5 separate regions of the Homo sapiens genome follow, and regions 1, 2, 4 and 5 are each linked to region 3. The links are contacts of gene promoters, found by promoter capture Hi-C in blood cells and fetal thymus (Javierre and others, 2016). All regions are on one chromosome and are shown on one strand. The core of a region is centred on a gene start or on the middle of the fragment in contact, and the rest is flanking DNA. Distances in the headings are between cores, read along the strand shown.

The links. Contacts are between HindIII fragments. The CHiCAGO score rates a contact against its expected background, and 5 or more counts as called.
Region 1: a fragment that was not itself captured here is called in contact with the fragment with the promoter of PLCZ1 in region 3 in 1 of 17 cell types (megakaryocytes); the score reaches 5.8 in megakaryocytes.
Region 2: a contact is called between a fragment that was not itself captured here and the fragment with the promoter of PLCZ1 in region 3, in 1 of 17 cell types (megakaryocytes). The highest score is 5.5, in megakaryocytes.
Region 4: a fragment that was not itself captured here is called in contact with the fragment with the promoter of PLCZ1 in region 3 in 1 of 17 cell types (megakaryocytes); the score reaches 7.0 in megakaryocytes.
Region 5: a contact is called between a fragment that was not itself captured here and the fragment with the promoter of PLCZ1 in region 3, in 1 of 17 cell types (megakaryocytes). The highest score is 6.2, in megakaryocytes.

Annotation. Positions count from the first base shown.
Region 1 is chr12:19,112,809-19,115,508 of GRCh38, reverse strand. No RefSeq gene overlaps it. Among named protein-coding and RNA genes, the nearest start is that of PLEKHA5, 16 kb to the left of the region's middle. The HindIII fragment of the contact is 168 bases long and covers 1,322-1,489 here.
Region 2 is chr12:19,150,153-19,152,852 of GRCh38, reverse strand. The region is part of intron 3 of PLEKHA5 (pleckstrin homology domain containing A5); the gene reads right to left. Among named protein-coding and RNA genes, the nearest start is that of PLEKHA5, 22 kb to the right of the region's middle. The HindIII fragment of the contact is 1,593 bases long and covers 472-2,064 here.
Region 3 is chr12:18,736,573-18,739,272 of GRCh38, reverse strand. It overlaps PLCZ1 (phospholipase C zeta 1), which reads left to right and starts at 1,261. Exons shown (of 15, transcript NM_033123.4): 1 at 1,261-1,341; 2 at 1,764-1,912. The coding sequence starts at 1,902. CAPZA3 (capping actin protein of muscle Z-line subunit alpha 3) reads right to left here and starts at 1,154. Exons shown (of 1, transcript NM_033328.3): 1 at 85-1,154. The coding sequence starts at 1,004. The coding sequence ends at 105. The HindIII fragment of the contact is 1,122 bases long and covers 1,183-2,304 here.
Region 4 is chr12:19,172,672-19,175,371 of GRCh38, reverse strand. All of the region lies in intron 3 of PLEKHA5 (pleckstrin homology domain containing A5), which reads right to left. Among named protein-coding and RNA genes, the nearest start is that of PLEKHA5, 44 kb to the right of the region's middle. The HindIII fragment of the contact is 5,251 bases long and covers 1-2,700 here.
Region 5 is chr12:19,190,895-19,193,594 of GRCh38, reverse strand. All of the region lies in intron 3 of PLEKHA5 (pleckstrin homology domain containing A5), which reads right to left. Among named protein-coding and RNA genes, the nearest start is that of PLEKHA5, 63 kb to the right of the region's middle. The HindIII fragment of the contact is 1,049 bases long and covers 783-1,831 here.

The DNA of each region.
Region 1 (2,700 bases), core at 156-2,655, 380 kb before region 3:
GCCCTGTGTGGCTGTTCAGGTTGAATGCCCATGAAACCATTTCTGAGAAGAGGTCAGACAGGGTTAAATTATTTGCCCTTAGTGATACAACAGCTTAGCAGCAGAGCCAGCCTCCTGATTCCTTGTTTAGTTTTCCTTTTTTTTCCTCTGCATTCTATTATTTCCCCGTATCCACTTCATGTTTAGCTTAGAAGAATGTTTATTATTCATTCATTCTCTTTAATAAATATTTCTTGAACACGGACTATGTGGCAGACACTATTAGCAATTAGGGAAACAGTTATAAGACACAATTCCTTAAGTACTGGGTGTAGAAAAAGAACTTGAGGGGGAAATATACCCATTTCTATAGAGGTTGTAGGGAAGGTGGAACTCTCATATACTACTAATGGGAGTTAAAATAGATATTAATTTTCTGGAAGGCAACTTGACCATATGAGACAAATGTCTAAAAATGTGTATACCCATTGGCCCAGAAATAATGCTTCCTGGAGTTCATCCTAAGGAAATAATAAGAGATGTGGGCAAAGTGATATGTGAAGAGTTATTCACCATAGTGCTTTTTTTCCCTTATAAATGCCCAGGAATTTGGGTTTTATTGGGCATATTTTGGTATAACTAGGCTATTAAACAATGCATGCCATTAAAAGTGTGGTTTTAGAAGACCACAAACCTGGGAAAATGTTCATAATGTATAAATGGTGAAAAAGAAAGGCTTAAAGTAATATGGATAACACGATACCTATTTTGGGGGGCAGGTTAGAAAATATGTTTGTAACGAGGAAAGCAGAGGAGGACATACATCCAACTGTAAGCAGTGATAATTATTATTATTGTTTTTGAGATGGAGTCGTGCTTTGTCACCCAGGCTGGAGTGCAGTGGTATGATCTTGGCTCACTGCAACCTCTGCCTCCCGGGTTCAAGCGATTCCTCTGCCTCAGCCTCCCAAGTAGCTGGGACTACAGGTGCATGCCACCACACCCGGCTAATTTTTGTATTTTTAGTAGAGACGAGGTTTTGCCATGTTGGCCAGGCTGGTCTTGAACTCCTGTCCTCAAGTGATCCAGCTGTCTTGGCCTCCTAAAGTGCTGGGATTACAGGCATGAGCCACCACATCTGGCCAGTGATTAGCTTCTTGTAATAGTCTTTCTCTTTGTACTTACTTGTATTTTCCAATATTTCCTTACTGAGCATATTTTCTTTTTATAATAAAAAATTTTAAGCTCTATCTGTATCAAACTATGAAAATCTGTGTTGTCTCAAATGTCTAGAGAGGAAGGCCAGCAATTCTACATTTCACCATTGGAAAAAATTAAAGCTTAAGTTTCACACGTAAAAGCTCATGGTAGACTTAACTAAATATCTATCATGAACAAATGAATTAAAATATTCCCCATATAGTGGAAAGAATCCTTACCAGTCATATATCTAATCTTCCAACTAAAGTATAATTTGGATCTATAATATACTTGATAAGTGATCTAAGCTTACTGGATTTAGAGACAGATTTTTTTATTCATGAAAAAGCTGGATCTTAGCTAAATTATAACCAATAGAAGCCAATCTGGAATCACAGCACCAATATTTGGTAACTACACTGGTCATTTAGGTGTAATTGTGCATGGTAAAGGCAAGAGTGGGTTTTAGTGAATAGATGCTCTTTGAAAAATCATTCTCAAATTGAAAAATTGACTTTTGGCCACTGTATTTGCTCTTTACTATGTCTAGTGTCATCATTCACCAGAGACTTTATTTTTCTATTATTTAATTAAGTTAATGAATTTATTTTACTTCAGACAGCGTCTCACTCTGTCACCCAGGCTAGAGTATGGTGATGCAATCACAGCTCACTATGGCCTCAAATCTCCTGGGCTCAGGTGATCTGCCTTTGCCTCCTGAGTAGCGGGGACTATAGTTGCATCCCTCCACATCTGGTTAATTTTATTTGTAAAGATGGGATCTCATTTTTTTGCCCAGGCTGTTCTCAAACTCCTGGGCCCAAGCGATCCCCCTCTCCTCAGCCTCCCAAAGTGCTGGGATTACAGGCGTGAGCCACCATGCCTAGCCAAGAATCTATTTTGAAATGCATGGTGACATAGTTTGGATGTGTGTCCCCTCCAAATCTCATGTTGAAATGTGATCCCCTAGTGACAGATGCTTGGGCTGATTCCTCATGAATGACTTGGTGTCATCCCCTTTGTAATGAGGGAATTCTTACTCTATTTGTTTATGTGAGACCTGGTTGTTTTAAAGAGGCTGGCATCTCTCTTTCTGCTCCCTTTCTTGCCATGTGACACACCTGCTCCTCTTCCACTTTTCACTATAAGTCAAAGCTTCCTGAGGCCTCACCAGAAGCCAAGTGGATGCTGGTGCCATTTTTGTGCAGCCCGAAGAACTGTAAGCCAAATAAACCTCTCTTCTTTATTACCCAGGCTCCGTTGTTCCTTTACAGCAACAGAAAATGAACTAACAAACATGGATAGGAACGTTATTAAGACTTCTTGCAGAGCACTTTTTATAAGTTCTTATTTAACAAATCCTATCCATAAAAATACCTAGGACAATAGATCCATTCAGAACCTCACTCAGTAACTTATCTTTACATTTGTAATTGTATAGATAAAAATATTTTTATAATCATCACATTTTGTGAAGTAAAAAGACAACTTTCAAAAATTAATATGAAGTTAAAGAAGCCA
Region 2 (2,700 bases), core at 19-2,518, 410 kb before region 3:
AAAGAAATTCCCAAAATCAAATGCATGTACTTTACAACTTCAATTACACTCCTATTTACAGATCCTAGAGAAGCTCTTTGACATAAAAAAAATGTTCTTATTTTAAGCTGAGTATCATGTGCAGTGCTTATTCATCTTATTTTCCCTTATGTCTGACAAATGTTATATTCATTTGGCATTTAATTAAATTGTCATAATTAAAGAAATAAAACATACTCAAAGATTTTAATTATTACCATCATATATAAGTAGTATATAAAAAATATCATTGGACCCCAAGTTCGTACTACTGCTACCTGCATAAAACAAACTGACCTGCATTGCATGGGCAATTTATATTATACAGATTATTTTAACCTGCCTTGCTCTTTTCAAAGAAACAAATCTGACGAAAGACTAAAGACAAGAAAGTAATTGCTATTAATTATTCTTCATGTACAGTCTCTATCTATGAGCCTAGAGTCAAAAGCTTTTCCTAAATTATTTCCAGGTGTTTCTGAGAATTTGTAAAATCTTCCACTGTTGTCCTGCTTACTTTGTTGCCTATTAGGCAACTTTGTGGTTTAAAGATTATGAAGTTTTGGTCTGGTTCATCACACAGTTTGAACTTTCAAAATGACTAACAGCAAAAAAGATTAAATATTTACATTAAAATATCTACTGCTAATACCAATGTAAAAAAAATGTGGCCGGGCGCGGTGGCTCACGCCTGTAATCCCAGCACTTTGGGAGGCCAAGGAGGGTGGATCACGACGTCAGGAGATCGAGACCATCCTGGCTAACATGCTGAAACCCTGTCTCTACTAAAAGTACAAAAAATTAGCCGGGCGTGGTGGCAGGCGCCTGTAGTCCCAGCTACTCGGGAGGCTGAGGCAGGAGAATGGCATGAACTCTGGAGGTGGAGCTTGCAGTGAGCCGAGATCGTGTCACTACACTCCAGCCTGGGTGACAGTGCAAGACCCTGTCTCAAAAAAAAAAAAAAAAAAAAGTATGACCAAAAAATAGAAAATGCTAACCTGAAAATCTTGATCCTTGAATTTTTTTTTTAAGTCCAGGTTCCAGGCTTAGATCTTTGAATTTTACACTTGACAACAGTATTACTTAAATTAAATCACTGTCCTTTAGTATTTGCATATATCATTAATGTTTTCCATCTCTAAAGAGTTTACATTTGGAAAATGTCATTTCTAATAAAAAAATACTTAAAATATTCTGAAAAACCATAGTGAAAATATGGAAGCTGCTAATGACTATGTATCTGCTTAGTATGTAAGCTATTAAGAGTTCACAATCTACCTACCCAAATACCCTTTAAGGAGCACAGGCAGAACCCACAAATTCCTGGGCTGACCACCACTCTTGGCCAAATGAGTCACGGCCTCTGTAAGTCCCAGGGTCACCTTTCTCTAGGAGTCTACTGAAACTAAATTCAGCAAACCTCTCAATGCCCAAATTAACTTTATCTCCAATTCCTCTCTCAATCCATCTACTGACCTGGCATTAACCCTACAAGGCTTTGTTTTTTCCATCCCTGACCTAGTCTACAGTCCACCTTCTATCTTACAAATTTAACTACCTATGGAAATGGTGCTCCATAATTAGCAAACTCCTCTATACCCTCAACCTCTTTTCAAAGCATTACCTCAGTACCTTGGCTGTTAAGGACTTTCTCCCATCAGCTGTCCTACTGCATTCTCTCAAAGAACAGATATTTATTCCCCATTCCCCCAAGGTCCTTCAACTACCTGAGCCATCCATTCTCTTAATCCCAGAACCTTGTCATACCCATAACCTGGCACATCTAAAATCATGACTTCAATGATCACACTGCAACACCAAATCTCCAACCTTGCAGTATACATGTTTAACTACTTCCCTGTGGGAGTTCTCTGGTCTTGGAAGAATCTCTATCCCAATCTATCAGATCACTTTTTGCTCTACTTCCCTCCTTCCCAGCCTGAAGTCTAACAGTTCAACATTTCAACAAATCTATCATACCCTAACTCTCCTGCTCATCTGTCTTTCACTGGATTAATCTAGAAAAACCCTTTGTGGCTTCAAGCTTTCATTCTCCTTGAGCTCCTACTGACCACGGCCCTCCCTCAAGATTCCATAAATACCCAACAAGTGTCTGCAATGCACCAGTGACATAGCATTTAAACACACTGTATTTTAACAAACTGCTGACTTGTTTATTACAAAATATTTATTACAAATGTTCAACAGATATTTATTGAGCATTTCCTAAGAACAGAAAGGCACTATTCTTAACTGTGAGAATTTAGCAGCAAAGAGGGTCAGAGGAGGTCCCCACTCTTGTGAGGCTCATATCACAAGGCAGAAAAAGAAAACACGTAAGTGAATAAGAATTTTAACCAGTGATAAGTGCCACAGGGAAAACAAAACAGGGTAACATGACAGCAAGTGCTTGGTCAGTGGGTTTTGGGTGTGGGCAGAACAGGGGAGGTCATCTACTTGAAAGACTTCTCAGAAGCACACTGAGACCTAAGATACCTTCCTCCATCCCCCAAAACAGAATCAGTCAGATCTATTTTGGACCTTAAACTGACACAGCCCCAGTGAAAGTACCAAACCAACTAAACAGGGCATCAAAAGAAAAAAACATAATAACTCTATTCTACAGGAGTTAGGAATTAACAGTTTTAATAAAGAGGGTCATCCCACACATGTCCACATAGA
Region 3 (2,700 bases), core at 12-2,511:
TGGCTAAGTGAGAGACATCTCTACAGATTGCTCAATTTTAGGAAAATAACCATTCCCAAGAAACACAAACAAGTCAAATCAAGATAGTTACCAGGAGCAATTCTTTATATTATCCAGTTGCACAACACACTTCTTGAATAAATGACATATCCTAATTTAGGATACATCACCAGATTCAAGTCAGAGAGTATCCTGTGCCAGTCAATAAGAGTGCGGGTCACTGGAAGATCCCTTCGTAGAATTTTTCTCAGGGCTTCATTGGATAACTCCTGTAATTCTTCCAAGACTGCAGCTTGAAATTTGTTCTCTTGCTCTTCCACAAGCCTTGCAAAACTTAGAGCCAGTTGAGCTTGGTTAACTATTTCCAAGCTTTCTTTCAGGTCCTTGGATATTTCAATATGAAGGTTGACACACCTGAAGAAGTGAGCTTGCACAAATATTCTTCCCGTTACTTGGGTTAGAAATGGGTTAACTTGGAAAATCCATTTAGATTTCCAAAGTCCGTTCCAGCACTCTCCTGTTTCATAGTTGTGATCTTCAATGCAAGCTATCAAGTACTCCTTACTTTTGACAGTTTTTCTCAGCATGTTGCAATTTCCTTTTGGATAGTGGTCATTCACATACAGTTTTAAGGCGCACAGAAGAACAACTCTCAGGTATTCTGCCTCATTCTGAATGATACCATGACTTTGGATGTCTTTCAGCTGATTTTGAAGCAGGTCATATTTGAAAGAAAGTTTGCTTTGATGGTCAAAAAATCGGTAGTCGCCCATTACATTGTGGTGAGACAAGAGTACTGGATTTCCATCGATGCAGAGTGGTACAGAATATTTTTGGCAGTGTTGGTGGCCTGCACACTCACCTTGGTGGTGCATAAGTTTTTCATCACGGATAAGCAGACAGAGATCATCAAAGGCATTTACAAATTCCCCTGGAGGGGCCTGTAATAACAGTCTGCGAATTACTCTTTCCTTGTCCTTCCTGCTCAGCACGCTAAGTGTCATGTTTGGTTGCAACAGAAGCAAAGCTTCTGAAATGAGGAGTGTTCAAAGGATAAGAAAACATTCCATGAGCCACCTTTCCCATCAAGGTGTTAACATTCAAGCTGAAGGTTTTTATGTCTATCCATGAAAGCAGGCAGTCTGGCAAGGTCTGAGCCTCCTGATGAGGTCATAAGAAGCTTTCCTTGTGAAGTGTGGAACCTCTGATGATATCACAATGGGAATTCAGACCAAAAGGAAAAAATGACAGTCACCTGACAGTGTGGTGCCCAGCCAACCAGCTATACCTCTTTTGAAGATTTTAAGAACTTAGCCTCCTGAACAGTCTTCTTCGAAAGTGGTGTGTCTCTGTGTGCATTATATGTTGTCAACGATCTAGAGAAGCAGCCCAAAGTTTCAAGAGTGACAGCACTTTGCAACTTCAGGAATCACAATGGTGTTGATTTATACTCAGGCTCTCAGAGTAGCTGCCCAAACCCACTGGAAGCATATTATGATGAAAGGTTTGAGGGGTTTAAACAAAGTAGTAAAAAATAAAAGGAGATACAATGGCAGTTCATGGAAAAATGCCAGACATCAGGGAAAGCTGTGTTTTCAAATATTGTGGGTTTGGAGGTGGTCAGAACGTAAGAAGCCAAACAGTTTCAAGGGCAGGGTAGTGCAGGTACCACATCTTGCATACTGTTTCTATGGTTAAGTGTGAGCTAGCTTCAAAGAACGAAGGCAAAAAAAACCACTGTGTGTTCTCTGCTTTCTCCCTAGAAAAGTGGTAACAGCTGATGAGTATCAAGAAATTATTTTCTGCAAAGGGGCAGAGTTAATTGTATTTGGAACCCATGACAGCACCTACTGGGGAAAGACTTCTAAGTGAGGAGAAACGGCTCTACAGGTCATGAAACTATGGAAATGAGATATCCATTGAGAGCTTCTTTCTGCTCCTCTTCTTCTTTCTCCTACTTATCCTCTTTACTTGATGCTGTTATTCTTTTCGAGGAGTTCTGAATTTAAGTCCTCTTCATTTAAGTTGAACTGCTTTTCCCTGTTTGTTCTGAGCTTTTCTAACTTTCCCTGCATTCTGGTATCTTTTTCTTACAAGAACATGAGCTTTGCTGGATTAAGTCATAACTATTAAATTTAAGGAGATCTCATTAATTCGTTCTAACAATCTGAAACTTAGTAGTTTTGCACAATTTTTACCTATACCTTTTATAATTTTAGTGATAATTGTCATTATCTCATTTCGATCTTAGTTTTTCAAATGGAAGTGTCCTAGTTTTTGTAGTTTATCTATGATAAGTAAGCTTTTAAAAATTTTTTTCGTTTTTCATACCAAATATACACTCACCATGGTATTTCTGATGCTTTTTGATGGTACTGTCTTGAGTGTGTGTGTAGCTGGGCATTGGACTAATGTAGTAATAATAACTTTATCAGTCATGGTTACTATTTATTGAACACTAAGTAGCAGAAACTGTGTTCGGTGGCATATTAGGAATTCATCTAATGCTTCCACTTTCCTTAAGATTCAGGGTTAATTTGCTCACCTTTCTGGAAGAGAGAACTAAAACAGAGAGGTCAGGTGAGAGGCGATCTTGAAGTCTAGCTGCCTTCCAACTTCATGCCTTCAGGCAATAGATTGTTATAATGTTTTAATGTATGTTCTAAGTAATGACTTCAATTCTCAAATTTTAACTTTAAT
Region 4 (2,700 bases), core at 78-2,577, 440 kb before region 3:
TTTTTGCTATTTTGTATGTGTTGGGTGTATAAACAACATTTCAATGGCCATCCTTAAAAACAATATGCAAGTTCAACTCAATATCAATACTGTACTATTAAATTTGCAGGATAAATCTCCAGGTATAGAACTGATGAATGAGCATTTTATATTTGACTATTTTCACAGTTTACACTCGATCAGTAGTAAAAGAGAGTTAACTATTTCCCTCTGCCTTCACTAACATAGGGATATTCCCACATTGAAATCTTTGCCAATTTGATACAGGAATAAGATACCTCATTCCAGCTGTCTTCTAAAAAATTGGCCATTTATGTTTCTTTTTGTCTGACTTTCACTGTTCCCATTTTTTATTCACATTTCTTATTAGCTTGATCATTATTTTCTTAATGGGAATCAACTATGTTAAAATGCTACATATGCAAATAAAATTTCTCTCACTACAAAACAATTTTGAAGACTGGCTGTAGTTTCCCTGTGTTGTATGAACTGCTTGTTTAGATTCTTGAACTTATTCATCTAAATCCAACAGAGATGACTGCATGGAGATTTATGTTTACATACATAAATCTATTGTACAGATAAAAATACAACCAAGTGGCCCTCTAGTATGGAAGAGGCTAACAAAGACACAGCATCATGTAAATAATAAAAGGCTTAGGGTAAATCTAATTCTGGTCTCGGCTCTGCTACAATAAGCTGAATAACCTAGGTGTCACCTTAGCCCTCAAAGTATCAGCTCATCGGTCAGTAAAATGAAAAAGTTGGGCAGAACGGTCCCTACGCCTGCTTCCAAGTGTAAATCCCACGCCTCTAAGAGCTCGCAATGTTTTTCTTAGAGCATGAAACACCTATAGGACAAAATGAAATAACTGGTTATTATGAAGTAAAAAACAAATAACATTTAAGTATATGTTAAAAATAAAACTCAAATCATATTATAACAAGATTAGCAACATGATACTACCCATGTTTGCTTTTTTAAGTTCTCAGAATATTAGAAACTTGGGGAAATATACACATAGAGCGAATATATTCAAAGAATTAACACCTCCAGTGCGATTTTCTGATAATCATTTTAAGAGCAGTTTAGCAGGAAGAACAACAAAAAACGAAACCTATTTAAGAGCCCACTGCTCTTAAAAGCTCCTTGTTGCCAGAATAGTACCATGCCCCTTACAGGCATTTACATTGTTTTAATTTTTCAATCCTTGTATTAAAGAAATATCTTAAAATAAAATTAGATTTGTAGTTGGGTTTTCATGGTTCTACTCATGATATTATTAAAAACAAATCACTTTTCTCCCATCTGAAGAATTATTTCTGTGCTGTGATGCCTACGCTTATTCATTTTATAGTTTTAAAAATGTATTTAAGAAAGAATTGTCTCAAACACAAATTATGTAGGTGGAAAATCATTTCTATAGCAACAGTAGCTTCAGTCTATGAGTCCTGAAAGGTAAAAACCTCCTAATTCCAATACTTAAAACCTAATGTTTGATTTTTGATGGTGGCTCCTAATTTTTTATCACTACTAACATGAACTATCTAGACCACTATCATCCGCATGAGACCTGGCCAAATTCAAAAAGTATAAAAATACATGATGCCTTTTTAAATGATAAAGTTAATTACAAGAAATCAAACATGACACCTTAAGCTATCCCCTAGGCTGTATTCCTCTTCTTTGTCCTGTTCCCTGGAGCCAAAGGGATTCGTGGGATAATGACAGCTTCAAATAGTGAGTGATTTGAGAATCTTTGAGGTCTTACTGCTAATAAAAAGTATTAGTACCATGTCATTACTGTTACCTGGGGGAAAAAAGTAAAAAGCACTGCTCCCAGCTAGCACTGGTTTCGTCCCCACACTCAACTGTGTCTGGCTCCGATAATGGAGCACATTTTTTTTTTTGGAGAATCCTTTCTTTACTATTCTGATGGGCAGAGATTGAAAACTGGCAATAAAAAGAAATTAAAGCTGTACTTTTTCATAAACAGATGGCAAAATTTTATGTGTATGGGTGTATGCATACAAGAAAGGGAAATCAAGGGCCGGGCGCGGTGGCTCACGCCTGTAATCCCAGCACTTTGGGAGGCCGAGGCGGGTGGATCATGAGGTCAGGAGATCGAGACCATCCTGGCTAACAAGGTGAAACCCCGTCTCTACTAAAAATACAAAAAATTAGCCGGGCGCGGTGGCGGGCGCCTGTAGTCCCAGCTACTCGGGAGGCTGAGGCAGGAGAATGGCGTGAACCCAGGAAGTGGAGCTTGCAGTGAGCCGAGATTGCGCCACTGCAGTCCGCAGTCCGGCCTGGGCGACAGAGCGAGACTCCGTCTCAAAAAAAAAAAAAAAAAAAAAAAAAAAAAGAAAGGGAAATCAGTAGCAATTTTCTTTAAAAAAAAAAAAACAACTTTTTTCCCATTCTATTGCTCAGATGCAAAACATACCCGAGACACGAGGAGAATGATCACCACCACTACTTTAACACCCCAAAAGCACAGGACACACTGAATATGGTGGAGCAATAAATACAGTGTTCATGAAATTCTGTGTTATTTTCCTGGCTCTGCCATTTTCTAGCCATGTGACTGTAGCCAATTTGATTTATCTGTGCTTCAGGTGTATCATCTGAAAATAAGAATAATGATGGTGCTCTCTTAAGGGTTACTGCAAAGATCCAATGAGTTCGTATATATAAGA
Region 5 (2,700 bases), core at 58-2,557, 450 kb before region 3:
GTGATAGATGCACACTGAAGGCCCTGATTTTACCACAATGCAATATATATCAATGTAGTAAAACTGCACTTGTACCCTATGATTATATACAAATTAAAAAAATCAAAACTCTAAATCAGAATAAACGTCCAAGTATAAAATTCATATCTAACTTTCCATTTGAAGTAAGAAATTGATTAAAAATTTAAACTGCCTTCTCACAAGAACCTAATTTAACCAACATTATTTGCTTTTAAAATATTGGCTTCATGTGTTCCCAACATGGGGTCTACTGAAAGCTCATAAATTATCTTAATAAACAAAGTCTTACCTAATGAAGCATCATTCTTGTGAATCTTACTATATTCTGCCCCTCTTCTAAGTATTAAGACTTTCCTTCTTAAAAAATCAAAACCACATTAACATTGCACCCTCTTATGTTTAAAGTTGACTCACATGCTACTGTCCTTGGATTTATGCACCTCATAAACACTCCAAAACCTAATCTACAATGTAAAAGTCTAAAATCTGAAACAGGGGTCAACAAATTTATTCTGTACAGGACCAGATAGTAAATATTTCAGGCCTTGTGGACCCAACAGTCTGTCAAAACTATCAACTTTGCTATAGTGAGAAAGTAGCCATAGACATTACATAAATGAGTATGGCTGCATTCCAACAAAGCTTTATTTACAAAAACAGGCAGCAGGCTGGATTTGGTCCACAGCCACAGTTACTAACCCCTAATCGAAAGTATTAGTTAAGTAGAATGTCTATGATAGTCTCATCACTCCTTAAAAGCTTAGTACCACATGCCTCTGATCAATTATTTACTAGATCAATTTCACTTATTAATGATTAGGTTTACTAATTTTAGTAAGAATAAATTCTTTTCTTTTTTATTTTTTGAGACATAGGGTCTGACTCTGTGGCCCACGCTGCACTGCAGAGGTGCCATCTGGGCTCAATGAAACCGCTTCCACCTCCCAGGTTCAAGCAATTCTCCTGCCTCAGCCACCCGAGTGGCTGGGACTAGAGGCGAATGCCACCACGCCCGGCTAAATTTTTTTTGTATTTTGAGTAGAGACGGGGTTTCAACCATGTTGGCCAGGCTGGTCTTGAACTCCTGACTTCAAGTGATCTGCCCGCCTCGGCCTCCCAAAGTGCTGGGATTATAGGTGTGAGCCACTGTGCCAGGCCAAGAGTAAATTATTTTCTATTCTTATAATTTCATTAGGGTTCTCCTTAATATTTAATTTTTCATAATTCCACATTTCATTAACTAAAGTGAACTTAATCAGTCTTTCCTCATGAATCTCATTTTCTAAAATTTGTCCTTTTTACACCTTTGACTTCTCTCCAAGTTTCCTATGAAAAGTAGAAATGTCAGCACTTCTCTGTAATTAACTGCTTTTATAAAATTGAAAAATAAAGCAAGCATTTACATGTTTACTTTTTCCTTCATTAAAATTAAAAATAAAAATACTAAAATTTTTTTTAAATTCAAGTCAATTGTTAATAAAGATATCCTTTTAAAGTATGGTAGCAAGCCTCTAAGATGACCCTCAGTGATCCCCAGCCTATACACGGACTATACAAGGGTATACACACCTTTGTATAGTCCCCTCCTGCAATGAATCAAGGCTGGCCTTTTTCACCAATAAAATATGACAAAAGTGACACCCAAAGCTAAGTCATAATGGCAGTGCGGCTTCTACCTTACTCTCTTAGGCTTGGTCACTATGGACAAAGCCAACCACCATGTCATGGGTCACGCAGCCTTATGCAGAGAAACCAACTACCCACCATCAACTTGCCAGACACGTGATCCTCCAGCATGAGCTTTCAAGCTTGCAGAGACTAAAGCCTTAAGCTCATAAGGCTCATCCAACCTCGTAAGAGAACCTGAGCCAGAACTACCCAACCAAGCAGCTTGAGAATTCCTGACTCACAGGAACAGGGAATGTTAATAAATGATTATTGCATTATGTTTAGAGGTGATTTGAGAAAACAGCTGATATACCTGTATCTAATTAGGTTACAACGTATCTTATTTTGTATAACTGAATATTTTGGTTCTTGGCAGCAGCAGTTGAAAAACAATCATCTGTACTGCAATAAGATGAGTTTAGGGGACAAGACTGACAACAACAACAACCAATTAGGCCGCATGGTAGTGATGGATGCTAGGCTGTTCATTCAACAACACTCAACATTAACTCAAAGCATTCAGTGTGGGAAGCTGTGTGTCAGGGTATTAAAGTATTAACAGTTTGATTTCTACATACTGGTCTATGACCCACAGTTACATGCAAGAAATAATCCCTACTTCACTCCCATTCTTGCCCATGTAAATCTCACTGTTTCACAGGGCACTGTGTTTTTAAATCTTGGTCTGACCCATTAGTAGATAATGAAATGCAGTTAACAGGATGTTTGCTACCAGTACTTTAAAATAACAAAACAGAAGAGAAGGTATAGGTGGTAAAGGGAAGAAAGTATTTTCATTTTAGTATTATATAAAGTGGACAGTGGGTCATCCAATAATATTTATTTCTTATTGCGAGTCATGGTCAAAAAAAATTAAAATAAATGACATAAAATACCAAATATGTTTACATCATAGGAAACTAATTAGTCACCACACTCGTCCAGTTAGCTGCCAGCTCATGTTCCTTTTCCAACTTCTCTTTTGCATGCCCTTTAAATAGCTAGGCTTCA